3 separate regions of the Homo sapiens genome follow, and all the other regions are linked to region 2. Evidence: promoter capture Hi-C in human tissues and cell types (Jung and others, 2019). All regions are on one chromosome and are shown on one strand. Each heading gives the region's core, a stretch centred on a gene start or on the middle of the fragment in contact. The rest is flanking DNA. Distances are from core to core; before and after follow the strand shown.

Evidence for each region. The method cuts DNA at HindIII sites, captures the fragments that hold promoters and counts their contacts. A contact is called where the count stands out against the background at its distance.
Region 1: a contact is called between a fragment that was not itself captured here and the fragment with the promoter of CACNG5 in region 2, in 3 of the 25 tissues and cell types used here (aorta, lymphoblastoid cells and ovary).
Region 3: a fragment that was not itself captured here is called in contact with the fragment with the promoter of CACNG5 in region 2 in 5 of the 25 tissues and cell types used here (H1 embryonic stem cells, adrenal gland, dorsolateral prefrontal cortex and 2 more).

Annotation. Positions count from the first base shown.
Region 1 is chr17:66,894,803-66,897,994 of GRCh38, reverse strand. It overlaps the pseudogene RNA5SP446. Among named protein-coding and RNA genes, the nearest start is that of CACNG5, 61 kb to the right of the region's middle. The HindIII fragment of the contact is 8,798 bases long and covers 1-3,192 here.
Region 2 is chr17:66,833,218-66,836,608 of GRCh38, reverse strand. It overlaps CACNG5 (calcium voltage-gated channel auxiliary subunit gamma 5), which reads right to left and starts at 1,492. Exons shown (of 6, transcript NM_145811.3): 1 at 1,359-1,492. The HindIII fragment of the contact is 10,169 bases long and covers 1-3,391 here.
Region 3 is chr17:66,873,588-66,876,724 of GRCh38, reverse strand. The region is part of intron 1 of CACNG5 (calcium voltage-gated channel auxiliary subunit gamma 5); the gene reads right to left. Among named protein-coding and RNA genes, the nearest start is that of CACNG5, 40 kb to the right of the region's middle. The HindIII fragment of the contact is 7,302 bases long and covers 1-3,137 here.

The DNA of each region.
Region 1 (3,192 bases), core at 592-3,091, 61 kb before region 2:
GTGCCATGGGCAGGTACTTTGAGGTGAAGCGTCTCTAGAGAGACAGAGGAAGATATTGGGGAGAAGAACATTTGGAGCAGCAAGTCAGAGCAAAAGGCAAAGGTCAGAGGTTGCTCAAGCCCAGGCGTTCATATCCTCAAGCCCAGTGACCGCAAGGCAAGTTACATGGCCTCTCTTGGACTCAGCTTGCTAATCTGTCCAATGGGAACAACAGCATTTCCTTCATCAGGTTGTAAATCGAGTTTCATACGTAAAGGGCCTGGCACTTAGGTGTTGAAGAAATCTTAGCTCCCATGATTTTATCATTTCCCAGGGAAACAAAGAGGTTCTGGGAGCTTGCTTGAGGCCCCTTTGCTCTGCAGCATCTTGCAGAGAAGGAAGGAGGAAGGACCACAGGAGCAGCGACAGCCCTGTGTTTGGGGGGGGAACAAAAACACCCTGAAAGTTCCAGATTGAGCTACTGTATGGGAATAATTATGGCTGCTATTTTGGTGCATTTGTTTAATAACGTTAATTTGCCGACAGCCTGATATTATAACATCCTCTCCCACACGGAGGTGGCTTGAGTTCTCTATTCACCAGAATCCATTTGCATTTCTTCTATGGGGTTTGGGGCTCAGGAGCTGGTGACTCACAGCTGGCGGGGGCCTCCAGGAAAGGCCCCTCTCCACGTGGGAGCAGAAGTGGGGGTGTTAGCTCCCGGCAACATCGCTCTGTGCCAAGGCAAACTTGAAACCCTCCCAGCCTCCCTGGGAATGGCCTCTAGCCTTGCCCTGGGCCTCTCCAAAACCTGGCAAAGAAGTGGCCATTCTCGAGACATTGAATCAGGGCAGACTTCTTAGAGGAGACGTCTCAATGTGGTTGTTTCATGGCCTTGAAGCAGAAGAAAAACACAGGAGCCAGAAAGGATAAGGACACAAATATTCACGACTTGGAGATTTGTGAAAAATGAAGATGAGAGTGACTTCTGAGGATGGGGGGCTGGCAGAATGTTACAGGTGGATGTTTTTGCTGGAAACGGTCTCCATGTCCATGCACTGGGGCCTGGGTGCATCTGTAGGGCAGTTGTGTGCAGCCACAGGGTGGAATGAGGACCAAAGTAGAGAAACTTGAGAGCAGTTGAAGGGCGGTTTCTCAGAACAGCAGTACTCCAGCTCATAATGAAGAAAGAATGGTGTTAGAACATCACCTCTGCGCAACCACTAACAGCGTAATGAACCTGGGCTGTGACTATTAATGACTGCTAACTTCCCGGAAGACAGATAGCCACGGCCGGGCGCGGTGGCTCATGCCTATAATCTCAGCACTTTGGGAGGCTGAGGCGGGAGGATCACTTGAGGTCAGGAGTTCGAGACCAGCCTGTCCAACATGGTGAAACCCTGTCTCTACTAAAAATACAAAAATTAGCTGGGTGTTGTGTGGCCATCTGTAATCCCAGCTACTTGGGAGGCTGAGGCAGGAGAATTGCTTGAACCCGGGAGGCGGAGTTTGCAGTGAGCCGAGATGGCGCCACCGCACTCCAGCCTGGATGACAGACCGAGACTCCGTCTCAAAAAAAAAAAAAAAAAAAGAGACAGCCAGATGGCCAGGTGTCACATGTCTCCTGAAGGAGTTTCACTGTCAACAAGTCAGACCTGCAACCAATCAAGCTTCTAGATCCGTCTACCAATTCACAGGAAATGCAATGGAGGGAAACATTCACCAACCCCAGGGTGATACAGTCAGAACATTCCGGGCTATGGGCCGACTGATAGTGGGTAAGGCTGAGAAACTCAAGGATGAAATGTAAGAGACCTGAAAGCAATTGTGAGGCCAGGATATTACATGGGTCTTGATAAACAGGAAAGCACCGACACATATGCATGTTTTAGATAATAACTAGGAAAATCGGCCAGGCTCAGTGGCTCACACCTGTAATCCCAGCACTTTGGGAGGCTGAGGCGGGTGGATCACGAGGTCAGGAGTTCAAGACCAGCCTGGCCAATATGGTGAAACCCTGTCTCTACTAAAAATACAAAAATTAGCCGGGTATGGTGGCGGGTGCCTGTAATCCCAGCTACTCGGGAGGCTGAGGCAGAGAATTGCTTGAACCCAGGAGGCGGAGGTTGCAGTGAGCCAAGATTGCGCCGCTGCACTCCAGCCTGGGCGACAGAGTGAGACTCCATCTAAAAATAATAATAATAATAATAAGGAAAATCTGAACATTGAACTGGACATTTGAGGACATCAAGAAACTATTGTTTTAAGTGTATTATTGGCATTGTGATTTTAAAAGAATCCTGATTTTTTGCCAATATGGCGGGAAATCATTGCAGAAGAAGTGATATGATGTTTGGGATTTGCTTCTAAAGAATCTGGGGTCAGACATGAGTTGGTCCTCGTGGAAGCTGAGTGATGGGTACCAGGGAGTTCGTTGTACCATCTTCTACCGGCCGGGTACTAACCAGGCCTGACCCTGCTTCACTTCTGAGATCAGGGGTTTTGAGGGTAGTGTGGCTGTAGGATTGCTGGAAATGTAGGGTGGAACCCACTACATTGACAAAAAGGAGAAAGCTAGGGAAGCCTAGGTAGCTCACAGCTGGAGACAGTTTTCCGCTCAGGGGACATTTGGAGATTTTGGTTGCCACAAGCAGAGGATACGAATGCTACTGGCATCCTGTGAGTAGGGGCTAGAGATGCTGCTGAACTTTCCTGCAATGCAAAGATCAGCACCCACAACAAAGAATGTTCTGGCTCAAAATGTCAATAGTGTTGAGACTGAGGAATTCTGGGCTGTTTTAGCGGGGATGGGGGACACGGGGAGTATGAACTGGAGCATCTTTGCTGAAGAACAATGAGAACGTGTTGGATTAAATTAAGTGCAAACATAGCCTGCGATGCATTACATCCACCCCCCGGTGTAGCCCCAAGAAATGGTTGCCAGATCTGTAAGGGGAGACGGACAGCTGTATTTTCAGCAGTGCTGTTTGGTGCGTGTGTTGTAGGGGAGTTGGAAGCAACCCTACCTAAGAGAAGTGCTGGGGGAATTGGTGTCAGATCCTAAACATGAGTCAAGTCAGACTCTGGCCTCCAAATCCCACTTTCCTGGTGTTAATTACTGAGATTTTCACTGGGGTTTAGGCAAAAAGTAAAGGCTGTGGAGTGCTTGGCAGCAGTTAGGAGCAATGAACTATATGTTCATGGAGGAAAGCA
Region 2 (3,391 bases), core at 243-2,742:
AGGGGCTGCGTTAGCAGAGAAGTGAGGCAGATCTAGGGCTTCTCAGGCAGGCAGGAGACTTCGGCATGAGGGGCTGGCTACAGGGTCTGCAAAGAGGTGCCACCAACCTGCCACTGAGATGCCTGTGGTCCTGAGATACTCTGAATCCAGGACATCAGAGCCAATCAAGGTCCCACACCCACACCCAGGCAATCCTGGCTGTTAATTGATCAAGACTTCAGGTTTGTGGAAATGAGGGGAATGGGTGTGAGGTGGCTGGGAGGGGAAGCCCCATCTTGTGTTCCCCAGGATGGATGTGGAGCAGAAGCCAGCCTCGGTGACAGCTTGTATGTGACATCTGTCAAACTGAGACAGCTCCCACTTGGGGATCCTGTCCTGGGTCCTGCTCTAACCCAGTCACTGATAATCCAGTGCAAAGTGGGTGAATCCCTTCCTTTCTGGGAACAAGGGCTTCCTTAACCACCGGCGTGCCTGGCAGGTACCGGAGGCAGCCCCGGGGCAGCCCTGGAGAAGCTAGTCAGAATATGAGCTTCTTTCCTCCCCAGCCAGGCTCCCGGAATTATTTCTCAAATCATTTTCAGTCCTAGGAAGTGATAATTTGATTTCACTTTAACATTTTTAACGAGCTGCATCTTCATCAACTGCCAAATTAGGATGAGAGCAAAGATCGGGGAATCACAATGAGAGGTTTTGGAGTGATTGGGGAAATCCAAATTTGGGGTGTGCCTGGGTGGTTGACACCTCACGCCCAGCACCTGCGGTGGGGTCCCCATAGCACCACCCTGATCACCCCCGCGAGTCCATCTCTGCTCAGTGGCTCCTGGCAGGGACACCTCCTCCTATCAACCCTTCTCACAGGCGGGAGAAGGAAGCCCCGGGTCCCACGAGCTGGAGAAATGAGGCCACCCTGCAGGCTGTGATAAGCGGGGAGTTGGACCCGCATAGGCCGACAGCCCAGCTCAACAGGTGGTGGTGGGCTTATCCCTTCCTGCATTATCCGGATAATAATCTGCCAGCCCCATTCAAGTCCGTCGTGGAAAAGTCTGCCCTCAGCTTTGGCATGGGTAAATTGCCTAGAAGCGACTGCAAAGAGGGGGCGTCATCATCTCCCCCGATACATCCTTGGGACAGACAGATGGACAGACAGACACACGCACACGCGCATACACACGCCCGCGCTCCCCACCACACTGCCCCTTCCAGGGTGCGCGATCGCTAGGGCTCTCCAGCCCCTGCCCCTGGCTGGGCTGTCATGGGGGCGCAGCCCGGCGCCGCGGCCCAGCACCGGTGGGAGACCGTCCCCCAGGGACCCCCCCAGGATGGAAGAGGTGGTCTCTCCCGGTCTTCCCGGCTCTTACCTCGCTGGAGCGGCCGCGACCCCCGACCCTGGTCCAATGTCCCTCGCCGGCTGGGCGCGCGGGGCGGGAGGTACCGCGCTAGGCTGCCCGGGACGCCCGCCCCGTCCAGTCAGCCGGAACCGCTCGGCGCCAATGACCGTGGCCGCCGCCGCCGCAGCTCGCGCCCCGGACCCCGAGAGGGAGGGGCGGGCAGGGGGCGGGGCCGAGGGCGGGGCCTCCCCACCCCGGCGCTGCCAGCTGCAGGCGGGGTTTGGGACCGGTCAGATGCGGTCTCCCAGCCCGGGAGGTGAGCACCTCTGGGGTGAGCACCCTTGTGGGGGTGGCAGGTGAAGAGTTGGGGGCCGGCGTGGGAGAGGAGAGGCTTTCAGAGTCCGCATAGGGCTGGGAGACCCTGCCTGGAGTCAGACTCACCTTCAAATTCCAGCAGCTGGGGCTGCAGCCTCTGCCGTTGCTGCTGCTTTTAAATAAGGATGATGATGATGATGATGATGATGATGATGGTGATAGAACAACAATGCCAGCTAGTATTTATTGAGCACTTACTAGTGTAAGCGTTCAATGAGCTTCACATGTATTAAGTCATTTAATTCTCACACGAATCCCATTTTACAGATGAGAAGACTGAGGCACAGGGCGCTTAAGTGAGGAGTCTGAGGACACACAGCTGGAAAATGGCAGAGCCAGGACTGCAGCTCAGGCCTGTCTAAGTGCAGAATCTGAGCCTTTAAAGCCCCACTCTGCTTTTGTACTGTGTGGCCTTAAGCAAAGTGTTTGTCCCTCTTAACAGTAAAATGGTAATATATGTCCAATAAATGGTGGCAACTAACAATAAAACATTTCTTCCTTTCTTAGGTTCTATGTCTCCTTTAGTCTCTGGGTCCTGGACACCCAATAGGTGCTCAATAGATGTTTGTTAATCTATGACTAATTTGAAAGTGGCAGCTGGAGCCAGTGTGGTCAGCCAGGTTGGAAGGGGAACCCAAGGGCTAACTCTTCCTGGCCTGCATAGCCACATATCTTTTATTGCTTTGAAATGGCAGCCTGACCGATATCTTTGTCCGGCACACTTGTGCAGATGCTCACAGACCAGCAGCTTCCCCTCAAAGGCCTGTAAAATCCCTGCAGACCAAGAGGGGGTCAAAGATGTGGCATGTGGAAATATTTGGGGGCAAAGTTGGTTGCTAAATAATGAGACATCAGCAGTGAACATATTAGTTTAAAACTGTAGGGCAGAAACTTTTATAGAAGCATCTATGTTGCTGAGGTCTCCTGACATGGGAGGACTTTGTCACATGTGAATGGGGCCAGGTGGAGTTGGGACAACTGAAGGTTTTTGGAAAGGATACACCACGTGTCTATTCACAGCATTTTAGGCCTATGCAGTTTTCCGCTTTTTCTCCCTTTTCCCACCTACCCCAAGAGTGTTCTTCTCTATCCCCCAGAATACCCTGATGGAAATCCAAGAATGGATTTCTTCTTCTTCGTCTCTGGGCCCAGGAGCCTCTTGCACAGCTCTCACCAGTATGGCAATGATGAATTTACTGTCAATCTCCCTAACTATGCTGGGAGCCCCTTAAAAGGAGAAAGTCTGACGCATAGTAGGCACATTGTATTTGCTGAATGAATGACTGGAAGTTGGACACATCTCCCCAAGACTAAAGCTGTCAAGGAGAAAACCACCAAAGAAAACCTCAGAGGTGGCTGGATCAATGAAATGAAAAGATGAAAACGGGCAAAGCACCCAGGAGATGTGCCTTTTGCAAAGTCTGCAGGTCATTTTCCCAGCAAAGGCCAGAGAGGCTGGCCTGGGATCCATGCCCTGTGGGTCACCTCTGCGGGCCGTCGCCATGTCCTCCAGCCATTGAAGAGTAAGTGTATGGAGTGGGGGTGAGCAGACTGCCTGGTGTTGGGTGTGAGGAAAGGGGTGGGTGGAAGAGGGAATGTCCTCCCTTGTGGGTTAATTGAACAATCCCAGAATGTCCACTTGCCCCCTAGATAGGCCCCCTTTTTGATCTGTGTGACCCTATTCTCTG
Region 3 (3,137 bases), core at 142-2,641, 40 kb before region 2:
AAAATGGCAGCAGCCTTGGGAAGGAGTAGAGAGGCAGGGAAGATTTCTTGGAGGAAAGTGTCCTCCTCATGTGACTCTAATAAGTTGCAGCACTTGGTCAACACAAGTAAAGAAGCCATACCACAGTCCAAGTGCAACAGCCTCCTAAATCCACCTAATCAGAAATGGGCTGACTCTTACCTGCTCAGCACGCTGTATCGGCAGGGGCCAGCAATGAACGAGAAAAAGAGAAGCTAAGTGTCTAAGCAAGGTCAACCACAAGCCCCACCTGCTGATATCTGCCAGGGTCAGGCACTGGACTTGGAGCTGGAAAACAGTGGAGAGCAAGGCAGATGGATGCCAGCCCCCGTGGAGCCCATAGCCAGTCTCAGGGCTTCTGTGCTCTGGCTGTAATCTAGAATCACCTAGGAAGTGTCTAAAAATCCCTGATACCCTGGTGCTGCTCCAAGAGATTCTGATACAATTGAGCTCAAGTGGGGCCTGGACAATGGTATTTTTTAAATTCTGCCAGGTGATTCTAATGTGTAGCCAAAGTTCAAAACAACTGATCTTCGCTACTCAAAGTATGGTCCATGGACCAGCCATGTAGGCATCACCATGCAGCTGGTTAGAAAAGTAGACTCTCTGGCCTCTCCAACATCCTAAATTGAAATCTGCATTTTAACAGGATCCCGGTGAGTTGTCTGCCTACTAAAATCTGAGAAGTGCTGTGCCAAGCAAACAGTTGATGGCATTGTAATGTAGCAACTGCTATGATGGGGAAAGCCCAGGATATGACAAGGGCCCAGAAGGGGTCATCCAGTGGGGCTGGAGGGGGCAGGCAGAGCCATCTCTAGAAGAGAATGAGGCCTGGGGCAACTCAGAAAGGTTGTGTCACCCAAGCCACCCTTGGCTGCAAGTTTGCTATCCTGTCGGCATCTTTCACTGGCACCTTGCAATATTGCAAAGTCAGAACTTTTGAAACTGGATGTTAGTGATGTTTGGGAAAGAGGTGCAGCAGTGCTTCGGTGCAGTCCACCAATATCAGGGCTCCAGTGGAGTCCTAGGGCCCTGCCCCAGGGATGGTATCATGTTCCAGTTGAGATTTGAGGCACAGGTGGGTATTGAGGCAGCTGAAAATGGACAGAAGCCAGATTTGTCTGCAGAGTCTGAGTTGACTGTAGGAGGAGAGTGGCAGAGTTTAGAGCCTCTTTGTGAGAAGGGGTTGAGGGGTGCACGCTGGCCCTGATTCCACAGCGCCGGCCCTGCTCTAGCAGTTGATCATGGGAAAGTTGATTGATCTACAGAGTGAGCCATATATTGGCTTCCTGGAGGCATGTGTGAGTCTATGTCCATGTTTGCAAGGCTGAAGAGCACAGGGCTTTAAGCCACAATGATCCTTCCTGTGTTGGCTTTGACAAAGGAGGGAGAAATGAAACACCAAACAGCCCTCTCCACCCAGCCAAATCATTCTCCATGCAACAGCGTGGGCAGAGGGGAGCAGGACAGTTTGTATCTAGCATGAGTATCTAGTAAAGCGCCTATAAGCCCTGTGCTTGCAGCTGAGGAAGAGGCAACAAAATCAGAGGTGCTGCCGCTTGCAGAGTTTGCGAGCTGGAAAAATGGGAAACCACAGCATCCCATTCTGACTGAAGGTGGGGTAGCATCATAACAGGCAGAACCCAGGTCCTGGGGAAGAGAAGCCAACTCCTAGCAGAGGTCCAGGGCAAGGCTGCTGCCGACTGGTGGGAAGTGCTAGTGACGTTGTACTGATAGTATTTTTATATTAATAGTAGTTAGCCAAACCCTGTCATTTACACTTGAAGCTCACAAAGTCCCAACATCTGCCAAAGGAAATGGAATTGAAACACCAAGGATGGTTAGCAGGAGTAAGGGGAGCAGTGGAGAACAAAGGGATATGGCTCCCAAAGGCGAACAGAGCCTTGAACTTACACTCAACCGTGCCACTAAAGATCCATGTAAGCTTGGGAAATTAACCTCTCTGCTATGGTTCGGATAAGGTGGTTTGTTTGCCCCCACCAAAGCTCATGTTGAAATTTGATCCTCAATGTGGTAGTGTTGGGAGGTGTGCCTAGCAGAAGGTGTCTGGGGTCATGGAATCCCTCAGGAATGGCTTGGTGCTGTTTTCATGGTGGTGAGTTCTCACCCTCGAAGACTGGATTAGTTTGAAGGAATGAATTAGTTCCCTTGAGACAGTTGTTATAAAGCCTCAGGTTTTCTCCGTTTCCTTCTTGCCCTTCTCTGCTCTGTCGTGATGCCCTATGAAAGCCCTCATCACAGGCCAGGGATATGGCCTTGAACGTCTCAGCCTGCAGAACCAAGAGCTAAATAAACCTCTTTTCTTTATAAATTATCCAGTCTCAGGTATTCTGTTATAGCAACACAGAACAAACTAAGACACTCTCTGAAGACTGATTTTCTCCTGGATAACATGGAGGAAGAGACTAATAATAAACACCAAAGTACATTGAACGTTTATCATTGTTAGGCATCCTGTTAAGCACCTTACTCCCCATTTTAATCCTGGCTATTCTATTACCACACCCATTTTACAGGTGAGCAAACTGATGATCAGTGAGGTTAAGAAGCTTGCACAAGAGCACTCAGCTGGCAAATGTTGGTGCCTGCATTTGAACCTTACCTTGCCCCACTCCCAAGCCCTTTTTCAAGGCTTGCGTTCTCAAACTCCCACCCCATGAGTTTATCCAAAGTGGGGTCCATGGAGCAATAATTCCATGGAATATTCTAGAAAAAGTGACTCTGGTTAAAAGGAAAAAAAAAAAAAAAACAGCTTGTGAGAAGCACTGCACCTAGCTCTTGAAGAACCGCATTGCACATTATGGTAAAGGCTTTGAAAAGCCTGCTTAGCTTTGCTTATTTCTGTATTTTCCAAACTTATTTGAGCAAAGAAAAAAAAAAGACATCATGTTCTGTGAAACCCACTTTGGGAACCACACTGCCTGCCAGGAAGAATAGGAAGACCTGCCTTGCTCACTCCACAAAATTGCTGGTGTGATTAAACACGACAGCAGATATGACTATGCTTTGAAAAAAGTCTAAAGCATGATCCTGGTATAAGGTATTGTTATTAAGCAACAGTGGACTAAGCCCCTGAGTCTTGCAGAGAGAATGGATCA